7 separate regions of the Homo sapiens genome follow, and regions 2, 3, 4, 5, 6 and 7 are each linked to region 1. Evidence: promoter capture Hi-C in 16 types of primary human blood cells and fetal thymus (Javierre and others, 2016). All regions are on one chromosome and are shown on one strand. The core of a region is centred on a gene start or on the middle of the fragment in contact, and the rest is flanking DNA. Distances in the headings are between cores, read along the strand shown.

Region 1 (4,339 bases), core at 1,349-3,848:
AGAGAAGAAGCCAAGTTTAAAAATGAAAACTAAGGTGAGTGGTGAGGGCAAGTGGTGAACAAAGATATTTAGATACAGAAAGGTATGTCAGAGTCACTCATAAAGGATAAAAAGTAGCAAGGGAAGGTCAAGTGGGGGAACTCTGTGGATAAAAGGCAAGCACGGTGTCTAGATTGTCTGGAACAGTTTTGACTTCAAACACTTGCCTGTCAAATCACTTTGTGACGATTTTTAGTTAAGAAACTATGGTCATTTTCCATGACCATGTTTTACCTATTCACATCCATAATTCCTAGCAAAATGTCTTTTTTTTTTTTTTGAGATGGAGTTTCACTCTGTTGCCCAGGCTGGAGTGCAGTGGCATGATCTTGGCTCACTGCAACTTCTGCCTCCTGGGTTCAAGTGATTCTTCTGCCTCAGCCTCCCAAGTAGCAGGGACTACAGGCGCCTGCCACCACGCCCGGCTAATTTTTTGTACTTTTAGTAGAGACAGGGTTTCACTGTGTTAGCCAGGATGGTCTCGATCTCCTGACCTCGTGATCCACCCACCTTGGCCTCCCAAAGTGCTGGGATTACAGGCATGAGCCACGGCGCCCGGCTGCAAAATGTCTGCAGCATAGCAAAATCTCAATAATTATTTATCACTCATGATAATTACCTGAATACTAAAATCAGAGAGAGTACATTAAAAAGAAACACAACGAACCATTCTTAAATAATAAAAACATATTCATCAGTGGTCTTTATTTACTAGCACCAATAAAAAACTAGAAGCTCTGTTTAGCATAGGAAATTGGTGTCATACTCACTTTATAATATCATCAGTGCTGGGTGGGGACAAAGCCATAATCTGCCAAAATCTGCACCATCCTTGCCAGGTTTGGGAGTTCTGTAGAGTAGTTACCACTGCCAGGTCTGACTGCCATAGCTCAGGAAAAGGGTGCAGTCATTTCTCTTAGCATAATCTTGAGAAGATGTCTAAGAGACCTATGTAATATTAAGTCACAGAAAGAAACAATATTATTGGTGGTTTAGACATGGAATGTAATAGCTAACAATTACGGAATGCTTACTTGTTTCAGGAACTGACGTGTTATCTCATCTAAACAATGCTACAGAGCATGGGTACTGTTATTAACCCCGTTTTACAGGAAACCTAGGTTTAGCAAGGTTAAGGAATTGCTTGAGATAACAAAGGTAGTAAGAGGCAGGGGTGGAATTTGAAGCCATATAGTCTGGTTCTTCAGGGTGTATACATCCGTGTATCTATAACCACAATGCTGCAGGGGCACTCGAACAGGCTGGAAAAGAATTATTTTTCTTTAAAGGGCAAATTAATTTCCTCAAAAGTAATCTCTGTTCACTTTATCCCATACCAGATGCTTATTTTCATTTCATATCCTAAAAGTTAGATTGGCACTTACATGCCAACTTAAAATACCTTTAAGTCTTTAAAATTTATAGTATTTTAGAATTTATCATAGTGAAACATGTACAGTCTGTTAGTCCCCAAGACAATAAAATAAGGATGATAGTGACTGATACTCCATTCCCTTCCGATGTAATGACAAACACGTAGAAACACTGTGTTTCATTTATTGGAATTATTTGGATCCAAAGGATTGCTTTTAATACCTTAACAAAATAGGTCATTAAAAAAAATCAAGTGCCTTTCAGTATTCTTCCAAGTTTCAATAACTGATCTTTTCCATTAAAAAACTTTTGATTCATTATTCCAAATCAACATATCATCTAAATATTTACACATAGTTAGATGTAGCTTTTCCCTAACCTACTCCCTTTTATTTATTAGTACTCATTTACATCTTAGTTTGCCACATTTACAGTTCTTTGAAAGTTTCATCTAATATTCACCAGACCATTCACCTCACAATTTTCCTCCCTCTTTCTAAATAGGTGAATTTGTTTACTGCAAAATCGATGGCTACGCTATTAAAGGTTACTATCACGATTTTAAAAGACATGATCACCATCATTTACCAAGATTCTTACCACAAGGAAATGATCACAAGGTTGGACAAACAGGCTCCAACTCTTAAGGGAAAGGGCTTGCAGTTAGATCACACAGGGCGGGCAGGGAAGCAAGCGGGGAGGGGTAGGTCGGAAAAGGCAGTGCTTGATTCAATTCAACATTCACTGCGCCACTTACCAAGAGCCAGAAAAAGAAAAAAAAAAAAAAAAAAAGCCAACCAGCTGGGCGTTATTTCGAGCACGGGGCCCTGCAGGTGGGCCTGTGGGCGGGGACCCGGCGCCCGGGAGGGAAGGGGCTGGCTCAGAGACTATAGACGGGCGGGGACCGCCCCGGCCCGGGCCTCCAGCGCCCGGCGCCCGCACACTCGCCAGCCCAGCTGCCGGCACGCCGGCCAGCCAGCCGCTGCCGCTTACCAGTGGCGCCTCGCTGACTCCCCGGGGGCAGCTCTTCAACGGTTCCCGCAGTCAGAGCACCACCCCGCGGTGGGGTACCTCCAGCCCGCCCGCAGCTCTCGGTCCCCGCCGCGCCGCCACTCTCGCGAGAAGCCAGGAAGTCCGCGAAGTGGGGGGAGGAGGAGCAGGGAGGGGCACTTAACGGTGGTGGCTGGTTCTGCGCCGGATCCGGGAGAGGGGCGGGCGCCATTGTGCTTCGCTGCCGACTGCATTTCCTCAGTCACGGGCCTAGAACTCCAAGGAGAAAGGCGGCGGTGCGTGTTGCTGCGAGTGGGACGCGCACTGGTCGGTGCCGGCTCAGGAGCCGGGGTAATGAGCTGCGGAGCTAGTTCTTCTCCGTCTTGGGCGCTAGTTCGGGACCAGGCCGCGAGTGGGGGAGGGGAGGAAACGAAGAGGCCTGGGGACGCGGAGGCCGCTTCCTCTCAGGATGAGGTGGAGAAGCTTGGTCCGGGGCCACCGGGGCCAAGGGGCCACAGCGCAGGCCTCCCTTGCCAGGGGCCTTTGGTCGGGTGGTGGAGTTTGTGGCGGGTGCAGGGGACAGATTGTGTGTCTTCCTCAGGGACGTGTGGCGGGTGACGGGAAGAAGCCTGAGCCCTCCTTTGGCGCGGGGCGGCCTCCTCTTGGGCCGTGGGGCGGGGGGTCTTCGGAGCCCTGCGGGCCGCGGGTGTCGCGCGTGAGCTCGCCGGTGAGCGCGGGGCAAAGGCGGGCAGGGCTCCGGCTCGGCCAGCCCGGCCTCGAGTCGAAGTGACTTCGGTAGCCCCTTAGATTCGGCCAAGATTGTCTTATTGGTAACGTCAGTTTTTGAATATCGTGACGCCCTGAGAGTTATTTTTGTGTTGTGGTGAATTGTGGGTTCTGCAACTCGAAGTAGGTGATTGTATTAAAAATGGACCTGTTGGCCTAAGAAGTAAAAATATAGAAGGCGCCGGGAGTAGGAAACTCCCTCATTTTGGTGAAACTGCGTATTGAAGATGTGTGTCCACCCCCTCACCCCAAAATGCTGCACTTAATACTTTTTCTCAAGTACCAAAGTAAATATATTGGGAAAGTCTATCTGGGTAATAAATTCGTCACGACTAATGTTGTTTGTTACTATTAGTTAAATGTGTGAAAACTGAAATTTGGCGAGGTTTTCTCCCCCATTTTGTAGGATTGATTAGCTATTTTTCTGATTACATGTTATTTTAAATCTCCACCTTTCTGTCCAGAACCAAGATGTAGGATTAAAGATGAATTTTCGATTTAAAAATCCAATAGTATACAGTTATTAAGAAGGCACACATGTAGTGTAACTAGATCTTTTACTTGAGGTAGCAAAAAGTTTGTTTGAGAAATGAGGTCAGTATAATATTTTTATTTAACAGCTCTACAGCATTTTGGGAGACAGGACTGGTGCATGAGGCAGTAGCACCAGACTCAGAAGACCTGGGTTTGAGTCTTGATTTTTGCCATAGTTATTTAAGTTCACGAGATTGTCTCAGAAACATGGCAGTTAATTTCTAGAGAGGATTAAATTTGCTGAGGTGGTGTGTGAAGCAGTCACTAGGGGACATAATACTAGTCTTGGTTTTTTTCCAAGTTTAGTGCTGGGTCAGGTGTCTTGAATTAAGAATTCCTACTTATTCAAGTACAAATGATTTCTTTTTTCTGCCACCTGGAAGAGGGCTATTTTCCCAGATAAAGCACGAGGATGCCCAGGTTATGTTCTACATGAAGGTGTCAGGTAACGAACTTGGACACAAAAGTCATCCATGACTCTCATGTAGCCAATTTTTAGTCCGCTCCATACCCACCTTACACAACTCTTTTATCTGCTCTATGTTCAAGAATCGTCTACATTTTGACATTTTATTGTAGGAAAATAATTTTATAATGCAAAATCTGTCAAATATCT
Region 2 (4,339 bases), core at 1,254-3,753, 500 kb before region 1:
GAATCCACCCAGGGTATTTTGTGCAGCTCTCAGCAGTTGATACGTGTTGATACAATGCTATGTATTGTCAGGGTTGTGATAAGTTGATTAATATTATTAATATAATATGTTAATGTATGCTATACATTTGTCAGTTGAATAAGTGGATGTATAAGTGATGGAATCTTCAATTTTGCAATTACTTTGGAAGATGGAGTCATAAGTGAAGGATGGAAAAGAAAGGAATTTTGATCACACACATGAAGTCCTGTTTACAGGTGCAGTTACACATTTTATTTTTTAAAAGAAGTTGGCAATTTGAGGTTCCTGTTTAATCTTGAATGCACATACAGGCTGACAGTGTTTTTACAGTAGAGTTTGTAACATGGTCAGGAGTGTTCTGGTTACCCAGATTTGGATTCTGCCCTGTATTCACCTCTGTTAGATAGCTCGGTGAAAATGGGTTCATGTCTGTCGGCAGAGGGAGCCACATTTTTCCATGATGCTTGGTTGATGCCTGTTGCCTTATAACACAGAATCCCCATACTTGGCTCCAGCCAGGCTGCTTCTGCAGGCCCCATCATGGCCATTGGGAGATCTGGCCCTCCTGGGAGAGTTTTGCCAATGGGAAACAATAAGGAAGGTGTTCAAAACCACAACTTTTTAAATTCGTGCATGAGATAGTTCTGAGAGATGCATCCTTAGGCGATTTGGTCATTGCGTGAAAATCCTCCAGTGTACTTACACAAGCCTGGATGGCACAGCCTATTGCTCCCAGGCTCCAAGCCTGTACAGCATATTGCTGTACTGAATACTGTAGGCAGCTATAACACAAAGGTAAATACTTGTGTGTCTAAACATGTCTAAACATAGAGAAGGTATAAAAATATGGTATTATCATCTTATGAGACCACTGTGCTATTGTATACGCAGTCTGTCGCTGACTGAAACATCATCACACAGCATGTGACTGTACCTGGGCAGTGCTGGCTTCCATTTGTGAGGTCACTGAGCAGCAGCGCCCCAGCCTGCAGAAGCTTCAGTTGAGGCTGGCAGTGTTGGAGGCTTGTCCCAGACACCAAGGCTTGGGGTGTTTGTCTCCCAGTGCAAGTACAGTTTTCTGGAAGAGCCATCTTGATTACCTTTCATTTTATCCTTTAAATTGTTGAGGATTAGGTTAGATAACTGCCTTGTCTTTGTAGAGGTGAAAAATTTATAGCTCTTGGAAAGTATGTTCTTCTTTCTAATAGAAGCCTTCCCCTCGCTCAGAGACGGGAGGAAATGCCTAACAAAGAACACAGTGAAGCTATGAAATTTGGCTTCTGTAAATCTTAGTCCTATTTCTAGAAGGTGGGGCGGGGAGGCAAGGCACATTGCCTGGCCTTTTGGGGAAAGGTTGCTGCTTTCAGCCAGGGAATGTGGGGGCCAGCTTCCCTGAGGCCCTCAGTGTGACGGCCGAGCTCCCAGTGGCAGCAAAGCGAGCCTGACCGGTCAGCCGCCATATAGCCACTTAGAGTCAGTTACCAAGGCAGGGTGGGCAGTCATTCCCAGAGTTTAAAAAAAAGAAAAAATCCTAAAATCCCTCATTACATTTTACCATTGAGATAAAGTAGCTGAGAAATGTGCAGTGTGTCAGGCACACTCTTTCCTGGTGTTCTCTGCCTTTACAGTTGAGCAGGGTGTGGCCATCGGGCCTGCCACTGAGGGTCAAGCATCACTGCCTTCACCACATCTCACAGTTCTCACCTTGGCCACAATTAGATGACATTTGTGAGGACCCTGCTGCTTTCAATTAATGTTGACACTCATTTTTTTCATTTTCCACTCATTTTTTAAAATATGGGAGAGGCCAGGATAATAGGAAGTAAATTGCACATGTGAATACAAGCAAGTAAATTGCACATGTGAATATAAGCATACAAGCAGAGCCCAGCCGCCCTGCCCTGCCCTGCCCGCAGTGCCCTCTCAGCTAGCAGGAAGTGGGTTCTGCAGGTACAAGCTGTTCTCTGGAGGTACTCAGTTCCAGTTTGCAGAATGGTTTTCATACATCCGTGGGTAATGCATGAAAAGGTCATAGTCTGCCAGCGGGAAGCAGCTTCTGTGTGCGCTGACCCTGCCGCCCTTCTCTCCAAGCCCCCAAGTTGGGTCCAAAAGCAAATGTGGGTGGGAATACAGACCCATTGTTGTGATCTGTAAGCCAAGCGATCCTGAGCCTGGGGAGCACATCCTGTGAATTTGAGTGACAGATCTGCTTTAAAATTTTAGGAATAGCCCTGTTTGTGGAATGACTGTGTCCCCGGCAAGTTGACAATTGAGTTTTTGCAAATCAAATCTTTTCCCAGAGAACTTTAATATATAAGAGATTCCTGCAAACCATCCATTTTATGGTGCAAAAAGCTCTCTCACTGCTGTTTCCAATACGTTCAGATTGTTGTCAGGTTTTGTTTGTTTGTTTGTTTTTTGTTTTTTTTTGAGATGGTGTCTTGCTCTTTCACCAGGCTGGAGTGCAGTGGCGAGATCTCGGCTCACTGCAAGCTCTGCCTCCTGGGTTCAAGTGATTCTCCTGCCTCAGCTTTCCCGAGTAGCTGGGATTACAGGAATGTGTCATCACGCCCAGCTAATTTTTGTACTTTTAATAGAGACAGGGTTTCACCATGTTGGCCAGAATGGTCTCGATCTCTTGACCTCGTGATCTGATCTGCACGCCTCGGCCTCCCAAAGTGCTGGGATTACAGGCATGAGCCACCATGCCTGATCTTTTAATTTTTTTTTTTTTAAGATGGAGTCTTGCTCTGTCGCCCAGGCTGGAGTACAATGGCACAATCTCAGCTCACTGCAACCTCCGCCTCCCAGGTTCAAGCGATTCTCTTGCTCAGCCTCCCAAGTAGCTGGGATTATAGGCGCGTGCCACCACTCCCGGCTAATTTTTGTATTTTTAGTAGAGGCAGGGTTTCACCATGTTGGCCAGGCTGGTCTTGAACTCCTGACCTCAGGTGACTTGCCCGCCACAGCCTCCCAAAGTGCTGGGATTACAGGCATGAGCCACTGCACCTGGCCAGTCAGGTTGTTCTTAAAATGAACGTCTGCCATTACAAACCTACTTGCCTTCTCAAGACAGGACAGTGTTGCTGAGGTATGTGCTTTCATGGGAATCTAATTCACAAATGCCATCTTGTTAAGGATTTTACAACTAGAAGAAATTGTGTCCAATTTGAGTCCTAAAAAGTGCCATCTGTTCACGTTGATTTTTGAGCTCCCATTTCATACCAAGTCTTTTTTTCTCCATCTTTGTATTTCATTGGCCAGAAGGCAAGGTACTGCCCATAGCAAGGCATTCTCTTCTCCTGCCCTCCCCTGCCCTCTTTTCCTTCGGGTCAGGTGGGGTGCATTAACCCTCACTGGAGCCTGGTGGGCAGCACCAGAGGTCGGCCTTTGCAGCAGAATAGCTGGAATTCCTGAGCATAATTTAGCCATGGTTCTGTTTGCTTAAGCATGTGGGTGGCTATTCTTCAGTCTCTCTTGTGTTCGTAAGTCCCTGTGGCTGCTAAAACTTGAGATCCCCTGAAAATGGCAGAGCCTCAGGAGTTCGCCGTGATGGCCCCAGAATACTCAATCTGCTTAGAAAAAGGAAAACACAGATCTTGTTGTCTGTCTGCATCATTTGTAAACGAGAGCCTTGTCAGGAATTTGTGTGTAGAACGTGATCTGTTTTAAGCCTGAGCATAGTCTGCCTGTGCTTACAGGTTTTTAGTTGCCTCAAGAGGGAGTCACCAAATACATAGCAAGGGTTGTGAAGGAAAAGGAGGACAGGGTCCAACCCAGTTGCCATGCCCGGGGTGGCGCACTCGCCCCTTGTCAGTTGCTCCAACTTGTGGTTTCTCTGATGCCCCTGTGAAACAGAGGTCCCTATTTTTAGTGCTGGACTGTCATTTCTGATGTGCTGCTGTTGCAAAAATTCAGTAGCAGCTTTAACAGAAATCCTGATTTAAAGGCCCCGTTTATAATGTAGATGAAGCTTGTTTACCAAATAAAAGAGCAGAATGCTGTGGTGGATTGGCTGCTTCAGATCTCATCAAATGGAAGAGTCCTGTGTTTATTCCTTTGCATGGCATCATGCAAAGGCCCTGCCTCTGCGTGGAGCCCATGCGTCTTTGTTTTGATTCATTCCTTCTTCTGGTCAACCAGGGAGAGGAGGAAGAGGGAGTTGTTCCTTGCCTAGAGGAAAATGGCAGAGCAGCAGCAGATCCAGGTAGTGGTTCAATACCCAGATCTTCTAGCGTAAGAATCATGCGTGTTCAGGGTCACGATCAAATCAATCCAGAAAATGTATATTGTAGGAGAGGAAGAAATCACTTCATCC
Region 3 (4,339 bases), core at 961-3,460, 480 kb before region 1:
ACGATGGAATTTTACAGTTACAGTTCCATTGAGTCAAATCCCATTTTATATATACATAAAAATTAAGTTCTGAGTGAGTTCTAGCTAAATATAAGTGCGACTGTAAACGCAGCCAATTTTTTTAAGCAGAATATGAGAACACCTAAGTATTCTCTTCATAGCAGTTCCTATAAAGGGATTAAACACTTATTTCTGTGTTATGGTTCTTATTCATATATTTTTATAGCACTTTTGGAACCTATATTTGTGCTTGAAGGTGTTTTTGATATTTGGAAACAGTATAAGCCATTTGGAGTCATGATTGGTGGTCAAGTGGATTCAAGCTAAAATACTAAGACCAGCATTCTTAGTGGCGCTTATAAATTAGCTCTCACCTGGTTTCCAAACTGCTTTTAACAATGGTAGTGCTCCTGGAACAATCCTTCCAAGCTCCTCTAAGGACAATATTTAATTCAGATACTAAAGGTAAGACTGGTTGTTACTTTTGTTTTGTTGTACAATTAGTACTTTATAGTCACATGTTGTATATATTAAATAGCCCAGTTTTATTCAGACTTGTAAATAGAACTATTTCAATGTAGTTAATCTAAAAACAAAAAAGAAAACCCCAGTCACGATTTGCATGTTCTCTGTAAGCTTCATCCATGCTGGTTATTGCACTGAATGATATATTATTAGGGCATGTTAACAGTATACCAGTAACAGCACTTTATCTCATTTATATGAACACCTTTGAGGTGCTACTTAAGTCCAAGCTCTGATGTATTATTCATTTGTAAAGATAAGGTACAGGAATGAACCTTGGTTTAAAGGTATTTTTATATGAAAATGGTGTGTTATTGGAAGATGTTAAAATGCTAATTTGAGAGAAGTAGGAGTGTATCTGTTTTATATGTTGGGATGTGAAATTTATTTTCTAAAATTGAGGAGAAGGAAGTTATATATTTGCAGAATGTTTTAAAGTGAATTGTTGTAATGAAGTTCCTGTGAACATCATTATGGTTTTGTACAAATAGGAACCTCTGATGTCATTCTTCAACGTTTGTTCCTGTGTGTACAATTGTACTTTGTATGAACAGCTTTATCATTTTTATAGGCTTTCCATGAGTTTTGCTGTAACTACTATGGCTTATTTATTTTCTTTAATATTTGTGAAAGTCTTACTCCTTTGTTAGTTTTGTTTCTGCACAACTACTGTACTTTTCCATATGGAATAAAGACTATTAATAGAATGTGTTTTGCACTAAATGAGTCAATGGATAAGTAGAGAACAGCCTGATGACAGCTATCTCTGTTGCTTTTAATCTTTGTTACCCTAGAGGGAATAGTGAAAAGCATATTTTATATTAACACTACAAAATGCTTATTTAATTTCGTTTTATAATTTCAGAATAAGGGTGACAGCTGCTAGAAATTCCACAATACTCAAGGGCCAAATTTAGTCTTTTTGCCTCAAATAGAAAGAAAGCATGCAGGAAAGCAATATATACTTCCTATCTATCTGTTTCAAGACATCTTGGTGTCTGTTTTTACTGGCAACGGGACATCTTTACTACTGTAATTCTCAAACACTTTGGCAATACACTGAACACTGTTATGACAGTTTGTTCTTTAACACATTTGTATTATCTTTCAGTTAAAAGTATGTCTTTATGCCTACATATTTCAAAGTAATATGAGAGAGAACATTAAACTGTGTTGTATTGTGATAAAATTCTTGGAATCTTAAACATCATAATACCTCAGGTTATTTGGTCACTGCTCTTGCTAGCAAGGCTAAGTAGTTTCAGTCCTTTAGAGCTTTATATTTAATGGAAGGTTAAAAACAAAAACGGGATGGGAAGGAACGTATCGCCTAATACATAATTCTTGTCATTAGATGATTTTTCCTGTAAAGGAGCTAATAAGAATATTCTCGTAATTTATTGTACATTATGATTTTGATATATACTTAGTAAAGATAAGTAAGGTACTTGGCCCAGCCAGGAAGAGGTGATACATCCTTAGAAAGCTAATGGTCAGTCCTGACAGGACTGGGTGGTGGGCAGGTGTTGCTGCTCCACATTGCCCTGAACTAACAGTGGGGTCTGGAGTGCCCAGCATGGGGGCTGTTTCATGTCCCCTCTTACTGATGGTTTTGGTTTGCTTGTGTGGAAGACAGTTGTTCGGCTTTGGTTTATGTTTTATACAAGAAGAGATGTGTCAATTAGGTAAATTACTGGCATCTTAGTTTTCAGCAGTTTTGTTTTACAAGAAACTAGCCTGGTAAAGTATAAGAATGCAAAATACTGGCTGGGCGTGGTGGCTCATGCCTGTAATCCCAGCACTTTGGGAGGCCAAGGCGGGCGGATCACGAGGTCAGGAGATAGAGATCATCCTGGCCAACATGGTGAAACCCCGTCTCTACTAAAAATACAAAAATTAGCTGGGCGTGGTGGTGTACGCTTGTAGTCCCAGCTACTCAGGAGGCTGAGGCAGGAGAATCACTTGAACCCAGGAGGCAGAGGTTGCAGTGAGCCGAGATTGCACCACTGCACTCCAGCGCAAGTCTCAAAAAAAAAAAAAGAAAGAAAGAAAAGCAAAATACCTTAACACTTATTTTAAAAAATGCCTTTTTGGCCAGGCGTAGTGGCTCACGCCTGTAATCCCAGCACTTTGGGAGGCCAAGGTGGGCGGATCACAAGGTCAGGAGATGGAGACCCTCCTGGCTAACACATGGTGAAACCCCGTCTCTACTAAAAATACAAAAAATTAGCTGGGTGTGGTGGCGTGCACCTGTAGTCCCAGCTACTCAGGAGGCTGGGGCAGGAGAATGGCGTGAACCCAGATCGCTCCACTACACTCCAGCCTGGGTGACAGAGCGAGACTCCGTCTCAAAAAAAAAAAAAAAAAAAAGGCTTTTTGCATTTTCTAGCAATGACTTTGAATGATTTAATTTTTATTTAAAAACCAGCTAACCTCCTCCATCGGAAAATGTCTATCAAAACAGAGACAGCTGGACCAATGGTAAGTTCTTTTAAGTTTAAAAAGTGTTCTGCTGAAATTATTAGCATACTTTATTTAAAGAATACAACAGAAAAACGGCCGGGCCTGGTGGCTCACGCCTGTAATCCCAGCAACTTGGGAGGGCAAGGCAGGTGGATCATGAGCTCAGGAGTTTGAGACCAGCCTAGCCGACATGGTGAAACCCTCTCTCTACTAAAAATACAAAAAGTAGCTGGGTGTGGTGGCACGCACCTGTAATCACAGCTACCTGGGAGTGAGGCAGGAGAATTGACTGAACCCAGGAGGCAGAGGCGGCAGTGAGCCAAGATCGTGCCATTGCACTCCAGCCTGGGTGACAGAGCGAGACCCTACAAGAAAAGAATACAACAGAAAAACACCTAGAACATGCTTCTAGCCTTTCTAATCCTCAATAGTAAGAATGTGAGAAGCATGTCATATTAATAAAAAAGTTTTCTGGAACCATTGATTATGAATCCTAGTTATGTCGTAAAGGTTAACAAAGTTTAGCAATACATTAAGTTAAAAAGGTTTACAAAGAATTACAAAGAAATGTTTGGAGATTTCCATGTTAGCAAGGCTTGCTGCCTTTCTGTGAACATGCAGCATATTAGCTATGAGTTCATAAAATGCGTAGTCAGCCTTTTCCTATATTTACATTGCTTTTCCCTTTTTATTTCCAAGTTTCAACGTTCCTGAACAATTCTTCAGCAACTGGAGGTAATAGTGCAAAGAAGGGTGCAGTCCCAGAGGCTCAGCCTGCGCTGACAGTGAAGTTCTAACAAGCTTCCCGCGGATGGCTTCCATTCTAGTAACAACTTTGGACAGGCAAGAAGTTAGCACCACCTTTACTTCCTGAACCTGAAGTTTTTTTTCTGGAGTGAACATATCAGGCTATTGTGTAAAAATGCCTTTGTATAGTTACTCCAGCTTAGAATTATATGTGAGAACATTTAATAATTCTTCATTCTGAAGGGAGGCTAGAGTTTGTCACGTTATATATTTCAGCAAAGTCAACTTGACTTACTCAGAATTTATTTCATCTAACTTGTACCTAGGTTTGGAAAATAAGAAAAAAATCGTTATCCTGCAAACTTAAAATCCAAAAAAATTGCTTCAACATCTGAAGTGATTTTTCTCCATTTAATCATAAACAATCTACAACCATTTTGCTACAAAATGGTCTCTTTAAAAGGCCTCCAAAGAGTTATTGAATGAATGGCTATTACCTAGAATGTAAACATCTGTTATTCTAGAGTAGTCCAACCTTTAGTTATAAAGAGAGATGACCTACATCTAACAAGAATAAATGTGGGCACTGTTGGGAATGATAGTA
Region 4 (4,339 bases), core at 1-2,500, 450 kb before region 1:
GAGATGAGTTCTCACTCCCTTGCCCAGGCTGAAGTACAGTGGCGTGTTCTCAGCTCACTGCAGCCTCATGACCTCCTGGGCTCAGGTGATCCTTCCCACCTCAGCATCCCAAGTAGCTGGGGCCACAAGTGCACACCCCCATGTGTGGCTAATTTTTGTCTTTTTTGTAGAGATGGGGTTTCACCATGTTGCCCAAGCTAATCTCAGACTCCTGGGCTCACGCAATCCATCCACCTCGGCCTCCCAAAGTGCTGGGATTATAAGTGTGAGCCACCATGCCAGGCCAAACTATTTTTAAATGACATTAAATTTGGATGTATACTTTATATTGATAAAAGCAATGTGAATAACCTGTCAAATGATTTACTAACTTTTTTTTTTTTTTTTGAGATGGAGTTTCACTCTTGTCGCCCAGGCTGGAGTGCAATGGCACGATCTCAGGTCACTGTAACCTCCGCCTCCCAGGTTCAAGCGATTCTCCTGCCTCAGCCTCCCGAGTAGCGGGGATTATAAGCATGCACCATCATGCTGAGCTACTTTTTTGTATTTTTAGTAGAGACAGGGTTTCACCATGTTGGCCAGGCTGGTCTCGAACTTCTGACCTCAAGTGATACACCCACCTTGGCCTCCCAAAGTGCTGGGATTACAGGTGTGAGCCGCGGTGCCCAGCCCGATTTACTAACTTTCTGACCCTAATGGTGAGTGGGGTTGAAATGAGTGAAAAATGATGTCCTTACTAACCTTGGCAAAGTGTTTCCAGGTCAAATTGCCAGATGTTCACTGTTTTGTCCATTGAACCAGTAGCAAGTAAAAGGGTATTAGGTGCAAAAGCACAAGTTGTGACATACCTAGTTAATAAAAACAACTATTATGTATCTTCTGACTAATTTTTAAATTATATTAATACAAGGTGAGGTTAAGTTCAGACCTGGTGTGCTGAGTCAATGTGTGAAGTATATTCTCAGTATTCTGAAAAACAATAAAAACAGCTTTAAATTTACTCAAGTAAGAGTAAAGTTACTGATGAAGACTCATTTGACATAAATGGGTTGTATACTAAGTGGATATATTAATATTTATTAGTAACTAACATAAGTTGAAACTTTACTCAATGAATAGCAGAAACAGCATCTGTAACAGCATTCTCAGGTACTTACTTCACTTTTTGTCAATTATCGGCATTATTGTCTGCTAGCCACCTCCTTAGAAATTTTTAGTACAGTAGACCCTTGGCATTTGCTCATCTGTTTGAACCTACTAATAGTAACCTAAACATCTATTACCTGAAATAATTCATATTTTTGACTATGGCATTTGACTTGTATACATTGCAGGACCAGTGAGTAGAAATTAGTCCCTTGGCCGGGTGCAGTGGCTCACACCTATAATCCCAGCATGTCGGGAGGCCGAGGCAGGTGGATCACTTGAGCTCAGGAGTTTGAGACCAGCCTGGCCAACACGGTGAAACCCCATCCCTATTAAAAATATAAAATATTAGCTGGCATGGTGGCACGTGCCTGTAGTCCCAGCTACTTGGGAGGCTAAGGCAGGAGAATTGCTTGAACCCGGGAGGCAGAGGTTGCAGTGAGCCAAGATCGCACCACTGCACTACGGCCTGGGCAAAGGAGCAAGAGTCTGTCTCAAAAAAACAAATAAATAAATTAGTCCCTTAGAGTACACTAAGGTGTCCATCTAACATTTTAGGTGTATTTAAGTGGGACTCATACATATTTTACAGAGACAATTTAGTGTTATAATTGTTTTTGAGAATGTAAAATCTCATGAAACGTTCATGAGAAATATTAAAGATTTACCTCACCTAGCTTGAGTATTCTTTCCCATTTCCTGCCAGAACACTCAGTGACTCGAACTTCTGTGTGGAAGACTAGCTTACATCACTTGCTTAACTCGCTACCCTTTGATTACTTATATCTCCATTTATTTGCTGGCATAGCTACAGCATTAGGAGGCTCCACTCAACATTTTCTTCTTTTGGACAATATTTTTTTCAACTACTTTATTTTTGAGACAGGGTCTCACTCTGTTGCCCAGGCTGGAGTGCAGTGGCACAATCTCGGCTCACTGCAACCTCCACCTCCGGGGTTCAAGCCATCCTCTTGCCTCAGACTCCCAAGTAGCTGGGACTACAGGGACGCGCCACCACGGTCAGCTAAGTTTTTGTATTTTTGGTAGAGATGAGGTTTCACCATGTTGGCCAGGCTGGTCTTAAACTCCTGGACTCAAGCCATCTGCCTGCTTCAGCCTTCTGACATGCTGGGATTACAGGTGTGAGCCACTGCACCCGGCCACAACTTGGTCTTTACCCACACATGGATCAGTAAAAAACTCCCATTTTCCAAGTCCATGATAACCTATCCTTTCTTATGCCTCTCCCTAAATCCAGCCAGGACTCTAAGAATGGTAGGTCACTTTCAACCATATTCACCAAAAACCCTAGGGTAAACATTCATCCTTTGCTATTATGGAAGCCTGGTGTAAAAGTTTAATAATTGATTGTATGTGATGTTTTGAACACTGGTGCTCTTTAAATATGTATAGTTTATGATCACATTTAAAATCTATCCATCTTAAAATCATTACTGAAATATTTAAGGGCTTGTTGCAGAACCAATATCTTACTTGCGTAACTATTTTAGCATTTGTGAAAATATTTATGTTCTTAGTCATACTAAACAGAAAAAATATATACTTTTTCTACCAGGCCTAACTTGAAGTTCAGTAGTCTAATAAACATAACTTTCATAGATCACCACAAGATTTTTAAATACTTACAGTATCATATACTATGACAGACTTATCCACTGACCTTAAAAGAAAATAAATTATAGGTGAAAAGTTCTATAAAAACAAAGTACAGCATTTATGTAATTAGTATTTTTAAGTAATTTTAGTAACTTTTCTAGAAAAGACAGATATTAACATACATTTAGAATGCAATCCTTTTGTTCATATGCATGAAAACTTTAATTCAAAAAACTACACGTGGCCAGGCGCAGCGGCTCACGCCTGTAATCCCAGCACTTTGGGAGGTTGATTCGAGCGGATCATGAGGTCAGGAGTTTGAGACCAGCCTGGCCAACATGGTGAAACCCATGTCTACTAAAAATACAGAAAAAAATTATCCGGGCATGGTGGCGTGCACCTGTAATCCCATCTCCTTGGTAAGCTGAGGCAAGAGGATGGCCTGAACCTGGGAGGTGGAGGTTACAATGAGCCAAGATCATGCCACTGTACTCCAGCCTGGGTGGCAAAGTGAGACTCTATCTCAAAAAAAACAACATGCCATATATAAAATTTAGAAAATTATAAGCTTTATTAAAACAATAGTATATACTATTTACGCTACATGACCATGAACAGAACAAGCATCTCTGATATATAAATAAAACACGACTCTATAACAAGTTAGTAACTGAATGGGAAAAACCACAAGGAAAAGCTATTATTTGCTACTTGGTTTTGTTTCAGATAGCACTATTCTTTACCATTGATAAGGCGTGCCTTAAATGCTAATCAATGTATATATGTTTTGATTATGATCCATTTTTGAAAATTATAATTCTAAACTTGATGTTGACTACATGATTCCTTGTAATGGTATAAAAATTAAAAGCAGACATCTGGGGTTATGCTAGCAAAGAAAAAGAACATCACACACACAAAAATACAACATTATAACAAAATGAGTAATTTAAAACAATGGATAAATATGCCTCTATCTGGCATTTCTACCCCCCTTGGAAACAGGCTTTTATGCCAGAACAATATACACTACAAGGTGAAAAAACATCTGCAATACAAGTGGTACCACACTCTGCAGAACATTAATATTTGTACTTATTAAGGGAGCTGATCACAGTCTGACCACAGGATTCACACCTATTAGCTTAAAATTCCTTGTTCAGTAGACCCTCCAATGTTGATGATGGATACTGACTACAGAATCTTTGTCATAAGTTCAAAATAGAAATTATACTTTAAAAGTTCAAAGATATAAAATAAAACACAAGAACTTGGGAAGCATATACTGTCAGCCCTCCATATCCACAGGTTTCCTATCTGTGAATTCAACCATGAATCAAAATATTCAAGAAAAACATAATAAATTGAAATAGGAAAAAAATAACAAAAAATAATACAAATAAAAATACTGCAAAACTATTTACATAGCCCTTACATTGTATTAGGTATTATAAGTAATCTAGAGATGATTTAAAGTATATGGATAATGTGTGTAGGTTACATGCAAATATCACACCATTTTATATAAGGGACTTGAGCATCCACAGGTTTTGGTATCCAAGGTAGCAGTCCTGGA
Region 5 (4,339 bases), core at 863-3,362, 390 kb before region 1:
CCAATGAACTAGAGTTACACATTTTTTCAACTCAAAAGAAACAGAAACAGAATTTAAAAACAATAAGATTTATAGCATAATACAACTGATATGTCTAAAAACCACTGTGTGTACATACGTATTTTTCATATTATATAAAGAAACATATTGCTAAATAAATACATAAGTAGTCGACTGGAAAGGCATATTTTAAGTGGTTGTATATAGGGGAAAGTGGAGATGAACTGAAGAATAAAACAAAAAAAGTAACACAGAGGGGCTTTGCAAGAATAATGTAAAGAGTGTGCCATGAATTGAAGAAAGAAATTAATTACCTCAATTATTTGAGGTTTAAAAAAAATTCCTTTTTTTGTAGAGTTGTAATGAGGCCAAAGCAAGTCTAAGAGATCTTGTTGAAGCAAGATTCCCAGCAGATAAGATTCTATTCATTTCCCTAGTTTTTAAAGTCACATCCCCCTGGAAAGAAAATTTTAGTGGCTTGGCCGGGCGCGGTGGCTCACGCCTGTAATCCCAGCACTTCGGGAGGCCGTGGGGGCAGATCACGAGGTCAGGAGATCGAGACCATCCTGGCTAACACGGTGAAACCCCGTCTCTACTAAAAATACAAAAATTAGCCGGGCGTGGTGGAGGATACCTGTAGTCCCAGCTACTTGGGAGGCTGAGGCAGGAGAATGGTGTGAACCCAGGAGGCGGAGCTTGCAGTGAGCCGAGATTGCACCACTGTACTCCAGCCTGGGTGACAGAGCAAGACTCCATCTCAAAAAAAAAAAAAAAAAAAAAAAAAAAAGAAAGAAAAGAACATTTTAGTGGCTTATGTCTGTAATCCCAGCACTTTGGGAGGCTGAGGCAGGCAGATCATCTGAGTTTGAGAACAGCCTGGCCAATATAGTGAAACCCCCATCTCTACTGAAAATACAGAAATCAGCCAGGTGTGGTGGCACGTGCTTGTAGTCCCAACTACTCAGGAGGCTGAGGCACAAGAATCACTTGAACCCGTGAGGCGGAGGTTGCAGTGAGCTGTGATCACACCACTGCATTCCAGCCTGGGCGACCGAGCAATACTCTGTCTCAATAAAATAAAATAAAATAAAATAAAATAAAATAAAATACCTCCTTTATTCTCCTTGTTGAAATAAAATTCTTTTAGGAAGACACAAACCTCTTTCATTTCTCAAATGGAGATATTTGAAAAGCAAATAACCTTGAAAGAGGAAGCTCATAAATTAAAAGTACAATTAGGAATAAATGTCTGATAGCAGATTTCCTTGTTGAGGATGTGTTTAAAGGGAGAAAGCTAAAGGGACAGAATTTTGAATTTCCTTAAAGAATATGGGGATTGAGGGGCTGGAAAAGAGAAGGAGCATGGAGGGGTACATTAAGGTACTAAAGACAGATTAGATCCTTCATAATTCAGATTAAAACTGGTGCTTGTGACAAGTTTTATTTTGGAGTTGGAACAAGAAAAAGATCACCTTGCATTTATGGTTAATTTACTTCTTTTGGGTTTTAGGTGTACCTATAGACACATCTTCACCTGTTTAATTTTCACTGTGGTTAACAACTCAAATATTACTTTACTGTCTGCATACTGTTTCAAACTGATGATTATTTTCTGTGTTCAACAGTAGTGGATTGTTTGGTTATCCTTGGTTGGTCACCACTTGAGTGGTAATCTAAATCTAAACTTGAAAGTAGGCCAGTTTCTTAATAATTTACAGATTTTAGGACTAAAATGAGGAAGCTTCAGGTGAAAGCCTAATTTATCTTAAGGAAAATATGTTGTATATACTTGCAATTATGTGACAGCAGAGAGAGTTAGGATAATCTTTTTTTTTTTTAATTTGAGGAGAACAATGATACTGGTTTTATTGAGAATAAGCCCAACCAAGGGCACTGGGAGTGCATGAATCACTTACATAACAAGTGATCCACGTATGTATAGTAACCACTGTCATGTGCTCCAACCGCAGCCCTTGTGGGCTCATGCCCACTCAGTGTTTAACAGCTACCTCTGCTGAGTAACAACAATGAAGACACCAGTCCGAAGTAGCCAGTGTTTACCAAGCCTTTCTTTTTTTCCTATTTATTTTTAAAATTATCACTCTCAAAAATTTTGGTGTGTGTGTTTAAGTACTTTCTTATTTATGAGCCCCTGAGGCACCAGACATGTTATTATCAAGCCCCTTATATACCATCTAATATAAATTAACATAAGCATATATAATCTCTAAGGCAAAAAAAAATCATCATGAAGAATCCCCATGGAGCATCAGGCAGTTCTAGAAACACAAAAACCAGACACTTTTATTCACAGTGCTGCCTTCTTCCCTGCTCTACAAAGCATTTTTGCTTAAGCACCAGCCCCTTTAAGGCATCACTGCAATATCTGGTTAACAGAAACTGACATATTTACATAGTAACAGCTGATTTTTCATATAAGTCTTCACAAACAATCTAGAGATACTGAAAATACTCTGTGGCTTTGAAGCTTTGTGAAGTTAAAAAAATTTTTTGCAAAACATTTCTATATTCTCTCTTCATGATAAAAAGCAGTGGACATTATCTAAGGCCCACTTCAAGGGGCTATAAGCTCCATGAAGGCAAGGCCTGTCTTGTACGCCAATGATTCTCCGGAGTCTGGCGGAGCCCAGCAGGGCAGCAAATTGCATTTCTTGAATTCTTGGAGAAATACATGTCTTATTAGACTAATTTATATATCCGTTTTTCTTCTTGACAACTGAGTTATTTGGCTACCCATAGAGGCATTTTTCAGACCAGAACAAGATCTAATGTATTCTAATATTTTCATCTTGAAAATGTGAAATAAGAAAGAAGACAAGGTTCGGAGAAGTTCGCAGACCAGAGAGGTTTTCAGGCTACAGAAGTTTGGCCACCTGACTTAAACTCACCCTCTTCCACCCAGCCCAGTGCTCTTTGAACCACACTCTACACACTGTTCCTCCTACAGGTCTCTGTAAAAATCAAATTTAAATTAACTGGCTTTTAAAAAAGAATATATTTTCAGGTACATTAAGAAAAACTAAAAAATTAGTTTGTAAAAGTCTTTTATTGTATCCGTGCCACACATAGTGAAAAATAACACTCCTAAAAAAAGAATGCTACCTTTTCCACAACATTTTATTTTAAATAAAACTTCAAGTACTCTTACGTAGGTACAAAAAAAATCTGATCTATTTGCCTCCAACAGGCCACCACAACACACAGTAGATAAAACACAGTGGTTACAAACGTCTTTTAAATTTATTTCTGAGGCAAGGCAAATGGGAGGGAAATGTTTCTATGAAAAAATACTGTGTGCGTAGGAAATTGTCACAATTTTATTCCACATGGATACAAATGATTATACTTTAATTTAGGCCCTGGTGGCTTAAAATTATATAACAAAATAGAAAAATGGAAAACTAATATCCCCTACACCCTGTTTCAAAGGCAGGCACTACCAAGATTAAGGAGACGCCACAGTGTTGGTAGAGGATAATTACTGTACAGACTGTATAGCTATCATTACCTTCAGACGAAAATAAAATGCTACAATCCTCTAAGGCATGAACAATAATGTCTGCAAACAATATATACACATAATACATATTTAAAACAAGACTTAATATAAACAAGAATGAACAGTATATACATGTCAATTTTTTCACTGTTTTGAAATACAATTTAACTACACAAGTGATGCAGCAACATATATATATAAATGTACTTGTAACTCTACAGTAAAGTTTCTTTTTGGTGCTTTTATAGCACATCAGTGTAAACAGTTTAACTTGGCTTTGTTTTATATTTTAAAACATTCCTTGTATTTTCAAGATTTAAAGCAATTTTCTAGTTCTTCCTTTTCACAGAAAACGAAGATTCTGGATGTGGTTTAATCATAAATAATTCATAAAATTAAATACATTCACTAAAAAATAAACTACAAAGTAAAAAAATGAAAAATAGATATTTATTGAGAGGGAAAGGAGAACCATTTCCCACATTAGAGCTCTGGTGTTGAGTATTCAGTGCGATTTGATATATTTTAATTGCTATTGCACTATAACACCCTTTCCTTTGAAAATTCTTTGGGTGTGCTTCCCTGTTCTACCTAAATTAGCTGATAAATCACACAAACCAATAACCGAGGGCCTTGGTTGTTGTAGGAATGAAGCCTTTAAAAATGGTATCATTCTTCTGATACTTTTTTTTTATACTTAAGGAAAAAGAAAGTCATTATGTATGTGCCTTGCACGTTTATGTAAATACAGTTCACATTGCTGGTCTCATTTGTCCTTGTTTAGAAGGAAAAAAATAAAGAGATTATTATAACTTCAGC
Region 6 (4,339 bases), core at 931-3,430, 370 kb before region 1:
AATTTCACCTTTAACCATTCATGAAAAGAATCTCAAATGTTTAAATTTTAAAGCTAGTCTGTAATTCAAAGTAAATGGTAGCCAGGCACAGTGGCTCACGCCTGTAATCCTAGCACTTTGGGAGGCTGAGGTGGGCGGATCACCTGAGGTCAAGAGTTTGAGACTGGCTTTGCCAACATAGTGAAACCCCATCTCTTCTAAAAATACAAAAATTAGCCGGGTATGGTGGTGGGTGCCTGTAATCCCAGTTACTCAGGAGGCTGATGCAGGAGAATCCCCTGAACCCAGGAGGCAGAGGTTGCAGTGAGCCAAGATTGTGCCACTGCACTCCAGCCTGGGTGAGCGAGACTCTGTCTCAAAAAACAAACAAAAAAGCAAATGTTAAAGTAATTCATAAAAGACTACATATAATAGATAATTCTATATATGATAATATAAAAGAGGCAAGAGGGACACTTGTACATGATTTAAAGTAAATATTTCTCTGGAAAACATGAATTATAGCTCTGTATTTTGAACACACACCATTTTGGTGCCTGATACAAAATAGAGATTTTTGTGATAAACTAAATGATAAACTAATTGGGGTTGTAGAAAGAAGGTGGAAAACCAATTTTAATTAGTAGAAGACAGACTAAAGGATCTACTGTTCATGTCAACCACATCTGATGCCAAATACATGATATAAGCACATAAACTAAGAGTTCTCTGCTTATCTTGTATTTACTTATCTAAGTGCTTCTTAGAATTAAAAAATGAAAACTGATAGAAAAAGACATTTTAGCTACGCAGTAATATAGCAGGTAATGTTAGCAATGGAACTGTTTACTACAGTGAAACAGCCTTCAAGATTTAGATTAATAACTATTGTGCTGATGGAATGTGGGAGACAACTTCAGTTAGAGGTATAAACGATATTCAAAGGAGGCAGAAGCAAGATTTTAAAAAATAAAAGATAACACATTTGAAAGGTTCCTTCAGTAAGGAGGAAAGTATCAAAAATCTTTTAGAATTAGAAAAACTCTCAAGTATAGCATACATTATTATGACAATAGGTAATGTATAATTAAGAAAGATCTGGAGGTTGGAAGAAACAGGACAAAGTAAATTAGTTATAATATTTCTTAAATAAAAACACTTACAACTTTCATAATTGATTTTTCCCATGCTATTGATTTCTGTAATTGCTGAATGCACAGAGCTACCTGTGCAGCACTGCGAGCTTCTGATAATGCCCTTCTCCATACCCTGAGCCCTGGAGCAATATCCTCTTCAATTCTGCATTGAAATATAGAAAAATTAAGTAGGTCATGTCCACACTTACGATTACGGAATGTGAAACAATCATCACACTGAAAGCCAAGCAATGACAAAAACATGTAACAGCCAATAAGTATAAGGTTTAAGCAACTAAATTTGATGTAGTGCACAGACTGTGGCTACGTGCCTCAAAGCTTAGTCACAACCAGGTAGATGTAAGATCACTTTGCAGGATTATCAACGCACATAACAAAAAAAAAGTTTTTACAAAGCACCATGCAAATAGCATGATCCGTATGGATCACAGACATACAAGAAGATACATAGATAACAGGCAATAGAAAATAGGCTCCAATTAGCAAAGAAGCACAATAATTTTTCAAGTTAATCTCAATAACCTACCCGTCACCATCACCACTAACGGATGGTGCAGGAGCAGGGACAGTAACTGTGCCCACATTATCCAGTTTGATCTGAATGGTGGTACTTAAGGGGCTCTTCAGATACCTTCTTTCAATGTTCCGCTCCAAATCAGCCAGCCTGGTTACAGCTATATCTAGGGGGTTGTCACTCTTCCGTTCTAGTGCATGTGCACTGCTTTCGTCTTCGCCAGTAAATTCTCCATCATGCTCCTTGCACAATTTAGTAAATGATTTATGTTCAAAATATACCAAGTCCTCCCTTTCTGATGCAGGCTCTGGACACATCCAACCCTATATATCAAGAGAATAGTGTTATTATGGTTTCCTCTTAAAATGCTAGGTGGGTGAATTACCTTTACTTAAAATACAGCATTGGATACTGGCAGATCTCAAGGATTGTTACTAAAAGATTTTACCTTGTGTTTCCTAAAACTAGGTGGAAATAAGAAGAAAAAAATTAAAAGAAATAGTTGTAAGAAAAGTTTGAAAAATAAAATTTATAAACTTTTGATATTATAAAAGGTATAAGAACAATCAGCAAAATATTTTGAAGGATTTTAGACCAAAATGCTTATCAGTTTCATGGGATCACTTAAATGGAAATCTCTGGGTAGCCTCTGAGCCTTTGCTCTTCCTTTCTGTTTTCATTCCTTCCATTATTCTTCTGTACAGGTCCTTCTGTGCTCACCATTTTTCCTTTGACTGCAGGGGCTTCAAATATGCTATTACCTTTATCTGTATTGCTTTTCTTTTGCTCCTCTTCACCTAGTTAACGCCACTCATTTCATAGGTCTCATGTTAAGATTCACTTTAACATGAAAGGATCCTGATAGGAATCCTTTCCTGACCTCTTTCAGGAGCTAAGTCCCTCTCTGACAGGTTCTCATAGGACCATGCTCCTTAGCCTTGTCATAAATGTAATTTTATAGTAGTGTAATTATTCGATGAATATTTTTCTACTTCTAAATTCCATGAGAGCAGGGACTATGTCTGCTTTTACTCATTTATCTCCAGTACAGTGCAGGCAAATAATGGGCACTCAATACATGTATGTTGACTGAACAATCAATGATCCTGTAGCTCAAAATCCTTCAAAGATTTCCTATTCTTTAGGAAATGTTCACCATGGCATTGAAGTACCTCAATCTATCCCTTTTCATGTTCCCATTCACACATCTTATGTTGCAGTCAAATTCTATAATTTGCTCTTCCACAAACATGAGATAAGCTTTCCAATCCTCGTGCTCTGCTCATGCTGTTCCCACTTCCTGGGATGATATTGCCTGGTCTCCAATTGTCCAAACCATACTCATTTTCTTAAGTTCCATTTCAACTTCTAAATGAAATCTTCCATATCTCTGCCAGAAGTCAGTATTCTTCTTCTAAATTCATACATTACTCTGTTCTCAACAATCAGCTACTAGATTCTGCATATATGTATATGTCTGATCTCCCTATTATATGACAAGCTTTCTTATGGTAGGAACGACACTTTATCCAATTTTTTGGTGTCCACTGCCTGAGATGCAATAGGTATTTAATAAATGCATATTAAATGAAAAATGGAATAAACTTAAACATCTCTTTAGATATAATTATTTTATCTTATATACTAGGATAAATTCTTCCCCTTTAACTCAGTAGAATATTTATATTTAGAAAGGAAGGATGGACTCTAAAATGGTGTCACAGATACAAGCTGGCTTCAGTTCCTGCCTCCAATGCCCTCCCCGTCCCTGCCGCCAACCACTCAGAAAACCCAAAATAAATATACGGCACTGAGACGATCACCAGCAACATCCCAAAATTCAAACATGAGGATGAGATAGTTCCTGTGGCAAGAGAGAAGTGAAAAAACTCTGAGCAGATGGTAAGAGAACTGGACTTCCATATCCACGATGCTTCTCTACCCTCATTCTGCCAGGAACCAAGCACACAGAAAACTTCCCCCTAACTCACAGTTTCTACACTGAAAAAAGTGAGATCAAGATAGACAACCAACTTATCCACTATGAAAAACAGTGTGAAAGTTCCTCAAAAATCTAAAAATAGAACTACCATACGATCTAGCAATTCCATTAGTGGGTATACATAGAAAAGAAAGAAAATCAATATATGGAAGAGATATTTGTACTCCTATATTTACTGCAGCAATATTCACAATAGCTAAAATATGGAATCAACCTAAATGCCCATCAACAGATGAATGGATAAAGAAAATGCAGTATATTTATAGGATGGAATATTATTCAGTCATAAAGAAGAATGAAATCCTGTTATTTGCAGCAAAATGGATGGACTGGAGGACATTATCCTGGGTGAAATAAGCCAGATACAGAAAGACAAATTATTATATATTCTCACTCATATGTGAGAACTAAAAAAGCTACTCTACTCTAGAATGTAGAGAGTAGATTGGTGGTTACCAGAGGCTGAGAAGGGTAGGGAGAGAGTGAGAGTAAGAGAAATTGACTAATGGGTACAAATATATGGTTTGACAGAAGAAATAGGAGAATACATAAAGACAATTAGACAAAATCTGGAAAACAATTCATGATTTGAATGAGAAAATCAACAGAGACAGATATAAAAAAGAACCAAACAGAAGTTCTAGAGCTAAATAATTCAATGAATAAAGTAAAAAATACAAGACTAGA
Region 7 (4,339 bases), core at 1,219-3,718, 350 kb before region 1:
AGACCAATAACAAGTTCTGAAACTGAGGCAATAATTAATAGCCTACCAGCCAAAAAAAGCTCAGGACCAGACAGATTCACAGCCGAATTCTACCAGAGGTACAAAAGCGAGCTGCTACCATTCCTTTTGAAACTATTCCCAACAATAGAAAAGGAGGGACTCCTTCCTAACTCATTTTATAAGGCCAGCGTCAATACCTGATACCAAAACCTGGCAGAAACACAAAAAAAGAAAATTTCAGGCCAATATCCCTGATGAACATCGATGCGAAAATTCTCAATAAAATACTGGCAAACTGAATCCAGCAGCATATCAAAAAGCTTATCTGCCCTGATCAAGTTGGCTTCATCACTGGGGTGCAAGGCTGTTTCAACACATGGAAATCAATAAATGTAATCCATCACATAAACAGGACCAATGACAAAACCCACATGATTCTCTCAATATATGCAGAAAAGGCCTTTGACAAAATTCAACAGCCCTTCATGCTAAAAACTCCCAATAAACTAGGTATTGATGGGAGGTATCTCAAAATAATAAGAGCTGTTTATGACAAACCCACGGCCAATATCATACAGAATGGGCAAAAGCTGGAAGCATTCCCTTTGAATACTGGCACAAGACAAGGATGCCCTTTCTTACCAATCCTATTCAACATAGTATTGGAAGTTCTGGCCGGGGCAATCAGGTAAAAGAATGAAATAAAGGTCATTCAAATAGGAAGAGAGGAAGTCAAATTGTCTCTGTTTGCAGATGACATGATTGTATATTTAGAAAATCCCATCGTCTCAGCCCAAAATCTCCTTAAGCTGGTAAGTTATTTCAGCAGTCTCAGGATACAAAATCAATGTGCAAAAATCACAAGCATTCCTATCCACCAATAATAGACAAACAGAGAGCCAAATCATGAGTGAACTCCCATTCACAATTGCTACAAAGAAAATAAAATACCTAGGAATCCAACTTACAAGGGATGTGAAGGACCTCTTCAAGGAGAACTATAAACCACTGCTCAAGGAAATAAGAGAGGACACAAACAAATGAAAAACATTCCATGCTCATGGATAGAAGAATCAATATTGTGAAAATGGCCATATTGCCCAAAGTAATTTATAGATTCAATGCTGTCCCCATCAAGCTACCACTTTCTTCACAGAATTAGAAAAAAACTACTTTAAATTTCATATGGAACCAAAAAAAGGTCCCATATAGCCAAGACAACCCTAAGCAGAAAGAACAAAGCTGGAGGCATCACACTACCTGACTTCAAACTATGCTACAAGGCTACAGTAACTAAAACAGTATGGTACTGGTACCAAAACAGATATATAGAACAGTGGAACAGAACAGAGGCCTCAGAAATAATGCCACACATCTACAACCATGTGATCTTTGACAAACCTGAGAAAAACAAGCAATGGGGAAAGGATTCCCTGTTTAATAAATGGTGTTGGGAAAACTGGCTAGTCATATGCAGAAAACTGAAACTGGACCCCTTCCTTACACCTTATACGAAAATTAACTCAAGATGGATTGAAGACTTAAACGTCAGACCTAAAACCATAAAAACCCTAGAACAAAACCTAGGCAATACCATTCAGGACATAGGCATGGGCAAGGACTTGGTAACTAAAACACTAAAAGCAATGGCAACAAAAGCCAAAATTGACAAATGGGATCTAATTAAACTAAAGAACTTCTGCACAGCAAAAGAAACTATCATCAGAGTGAACAGGCAGCTTACAGAATGGGAGAAGATTTTTGCAATCTAGCCATCTGACAAAGCGCTAGTATCCAGAATCTACAAAGAACTTAAACAAATTTACAAGAAAATATAAACAACCCCATCAAAAAGTGGGTGAAGGATATGAATAGACACTTCTCAAAAGAAGACATTGATGCAGCCAACAAACATATGAAAAAAAGCTCATCATCATGGGTCATTAGAGAAATGCAAATCAAAACCACAATGAGATACCATCTCATGCCAGTTAGAATGGCAATCATTAAAAAGTCAGGAAACAACAGATGCTGGCGAGGCTGTGGAGAAATAGGAACGCTTTTACACTGTTGGTGGTAGTGTACATTAGTTCAACCATTGTGGAAGACAGTGTGGTGATTCCTCAAGGATCTACAACCAGAAATACAATTTGACCCAGCAATCAATCCCATTACTGGGTATATATCCAAAGGATTATATATCATTCTACTATAAAGACACATGCACATGTATGTTTATTGCAGCACTGTTCACAATAGCAAAGACTTGGAACCAACTCAAATGCCCATAAATGATAGACTAGATAAAGAAAATGTGGCACATATACACCATGGAATACTATGCAGCCATAAAAAAGGATGAGTTCATGTCCTTTGCAGGGACATGGATGAAGCTGGAAACCATCATTCTTAGCAAACTAACACAGGAACAGAAAACCAAACACCACAAGTTCTCACTCATAAGTGGGCGTTGAACGATGAGAACACATGGACATAGGGAGGGGAACAACACACACTGGGGCCTGTCGGGGGGGTGAGGGTCTGGGGGAGGGATAGCATTAGGAGAAATACCTAATGTAGATGACGGGTTGATGGGTGCAGCAAACCACCATGGCAAGTGAATACCTATGTAACAAACCTGTATGTTCTACACTTGTATCTCAGAACTTAAAGTACAATGAAACAAAAGAAAACAAAACAAAAAACAAACAAATTAAAAAAAAACAGTGAACTGGACTGGAAAAAAAAATCCTTGGTTTTGGCTGGAAGGCCATAGGGGCTTTCTTCTTTCCCACTTCCCTGAGAGGCAGCAGCAGGTCAGAAGGCCTTCAGCTGAGGTCAACACTGTTCTCAGCGTCCTCCCTATGTAGACTTTGACCCTTGATATGCATATGTCCTAGCACTGTTTCTAAACCCAAAGGTCCCTTGATAATGTTTATCATTACTCAGAAATTAAGTGCTTTCTACTCTTTCTCACACTAATGCATACAGGGCAAGGTGTGGGGTACAGTGTTTCGTCTCTTGGAGTGCTCTTGCTGCATGTCCAAGTCCTGTGGAATCATTATGGAGGCTGGGAATCCTGTGTACGGTTACTTCTTTGCTTGTAGGTTACTCTCACTAACAAACTTTGCTGCTATTAGCACCATGTGTGTTAGTGGTTTGTGTAACCATCTTGTACTACAGTTGGTGCCCAACAAAGTCCCGATGTCATGGCTTTCTGAAAGAGGAGAACCCATGGGTCAAAGAATTTCTCCTGGGGACAGTGGTAATTCACTTGGCAGTTAGGATGGTCTCAGTAGCTACGCCTGAGAATGGCAGAAGCCCTCAAGTGGTAAAGAGGGTTTCCAGTGGCTTGAAATTAAGTTCTATCTCTTCTCCTTATCAGCTTAGAGATTTTCAGGAGTACAAATTGGTAGGGTGCACTAGAAAGGGTGTGGTAGTCTCTCTAGAAGGGAAGGTGGGGCAAATTCCCACTGTTTATCTGTAATATGAGGCAACTGGTCCTGCTGTATGTGAAGCCAGTTACTGTGAGGCACGGTGTACAGGAGCCTGAGTGAGAACACCAGCAGGAGGAGATCCAGCATTATACAGAGCAAGAGCAAGACTCTTATTAGCTCCACTACTGTAGGGATAGTAGAGGCTTGGCCTGCTAATTTGCATGGTTAGGAGACAACAGTGTTGTTAAGGGAAGCTGAGTAAAAGGAAACACATGACCTGGTTAAACAATGAGCAGTCTGGGTTGACTAATAACACTGGGGCTGATGTTGTAACCCTGCTTCTAAACTGGATGCTTGGTAGCATGGGTAATACGTATTACCATTGGGGTGATTTTCCTGCCACTTGAATGTGAAATGGACTAGATCCACAGATAGTGTAGTTACTCTAACACACTCTGAGACAACTGGCTGTGTTAGCGTAATTATAAGAAAATCCAGGGTTTGAGTAGAGAATCCCTGACAACATGCTCTTGGTGCAGAGAATGTTGGATGACCGAATCAGAGCAGGTCCTCCTAAGTGGACAACTGCTTTGACTTATTCCTTCATCTGGGAGGCAATGTTGGACATGAAATAGTTCTTTTTAGGTCATACAAGCCCCACAGCAGAGGCGGAAATGGAAAGAGACAGGGTCTCATGAGATGCACAGGTTTCTGCCCAAAATATAAAGAAAGAAGGAACAAAAGAAGGAGTAGACCGATAGGCTGAACTCAGGCAATCTCCCTCACACCAATAAATGTGATATTGCTCATAAACAGAAGGAATGATAAGACAGAAATTGAGAGACGGCCTAATTCTTGAGTGTGGGAATGTAGTCCTATTCAAAAAGTTAAAAGACCCACTG

What was found. Contacts are between HindIII fragments. The CHiCAGO score rates a contact against its expected background, and 5 or more counts as called.
Region 2: a fragment that was not itself captured here is called in contact with the fragment with the promoter of MARCHF7 in region 1 in 2 of 17 cell types (naive CD8 T cells and total CD8 T cells); the score reaches 6.7 in naive CD8 T cells.
Region 3: a fragment that was not itself captured here is called in contact with the fragment with the promoter of MARCHF7 in region 1 in 3 of 17 cell types (endothelial precursors, erythroblasts and megakaryocytes); the score reaches 8.7 in endothelial precursors.
Region 4: a fragment that was not itself captured here is called in contact with the fragment with the promoter of MARCHF7 in region 1 in 1 of 17 cell types (megakaryocytes); the score reaches 6.0 in megakaryocytes.
Region 5: a contact is called between a fragment that was not itself captured here and the fragment with the promoter of MARCHF7 in region 1, in 2 of 17 cell types (endothelial precursors and erythroblasts). The highest score is 7.6, in endothelial precursors.
Region 6: a fragment that was not itself captured here is called in contact with the fragment with the promoter of MARCHF7 in region 1 in 2 of 17 cell types (megakaryocytes and endothelial precursors); the score reaches 6.7 in megakaryocytes.
Region 7: a fragment that was not itself captured here is called in contact with the fragment with the promoter of MARCHF7 in region 1 in 1 of 17 cell types (neutrophils); the score reaches 5.1 in neutrophils.

The regions. Positions count from the first base shown.
Region 1 is chr2:159,709,908-159,714,246 of GRCh38, forward strand. MARCHF7 (membrane associated ring-CH-type finger 7) reads left to right here and starts at 2,599. Exons shown (of 12, transcript NM_001282805.2): 1 at 2,599-2,699. It also overlaps a transcript of BAZ2B not described here. RefSeq lists silencers at 2,048-2,557, 3,078-3,197 and enhancers at 2,174-2,840, 2,608-2,887. The HindIII fragment of the contact is 3,093 bases long and covers 1-2,884 here.
Region 2 is chr2:159,208,135-159,212,473 of GRCh38, forward strand. All of the region lies in intron 19 of TANC1 (tetratricopeptide repeat, ankyrin repeat and coiled-coil containing 1), which reads left to right. Among named protein-coding and RNA genes, the nearest start is that of MIR6888, 23 kb to the left of the region's middle. RefSeq lists enhancers at 1,689-1,908, 3,213-3,827. The HindIII fragment of the contact is 2,978 bases long and covers 1,015-3,992 here.
Region 3 is chr2:159,231,428-159,235,766 of GRCh38, forward strand. It overlaps TANC1 (tetratricopeptide repeat, ankyrin repeat and coiled-coil containing 1), which reads left to right. Exons shown (of 27, transcript NM_033394.3): 27 at 1-1,232. It overlaps LOC105373716 (a long non-coding RNA gene), which reads left to right and starts at 3,280. Exons shown (of 2, transcript XR_002959431.1): 1 at 3,280-3,838. RefSeq lists enhancers at 2,031-2,200, 3,583-3,752 and a cis regulatory region at 2,116. The HindIII fragment of the contact is 3,153 bases long and covers 635-3,787 here.
Region 4 is chr2:159,257,017-159,261,355 of GRCh38, forward strand. WDSUB1 (WD repeat, sterile alpha motif and U-box domain containing 1) reads right to left here. Exons shown (of 11, transcript NM_001128212.3): 6 at 2,794-2,827; 7 at 929-969; 8 at 742-848. Among named protein-coding and RNA genes, the nearest start is that of WDSUB1, 28 kb to the right of the region's middle. RefSeq lists a silencer at 82-250. The HindIII fragment of the contact is 4,157 bases long and covers 1-3,329 here.
Region 5 is chr2:159,315,931-159,320,269 of GRCh38, forward strand. It overlaps BAZ2B (bromodomain adjacent to zinc finger domain 2B), which reads right to left. Exons shown (of 37, transcript NM_013450.4): 37 at 3,049-4,339. The coding sequence ends at 4,335. Among named protein-coding and RNA genes, the nearest start is that of WDSUB1, 31 kb to the left of the region's middle. The HindIII fragment of the contact is 747 bases long and covers 1,740-2,486 here.
Region 6 is chr2:159,335,800-159,340,138 of GRCh38, forward strand. BAZ2B (bromodomain adjacent to zinc finger domain 2B) reads right to left here. Exons shown (of 37, transcript NM_013450.4): 32 at 1,768-1,973; 33 at 1,143-1,278. Among named protein-coding and RNA genes, the nearest start is that of WDSUB1, 51 kb to the left of the region's middle. The HindIII fragment of the contact is 1,456 bases long and covers 1,453-2,908 here.
Region 7 is chr2:159,359,427-159,363,765 of GRCh38, forward strand. The region is part of intron 27 of BAZ2B (bromodomain adjacent to zinc finger domain 2B); the gene reads right to left. Among named protein-coding and RNA genes, the nearest start is that of WDSUB1, 75 kb to the left of the region's middle. The HindIII fragment of the contact is 4,300 bases long and covers 319-4,339 here.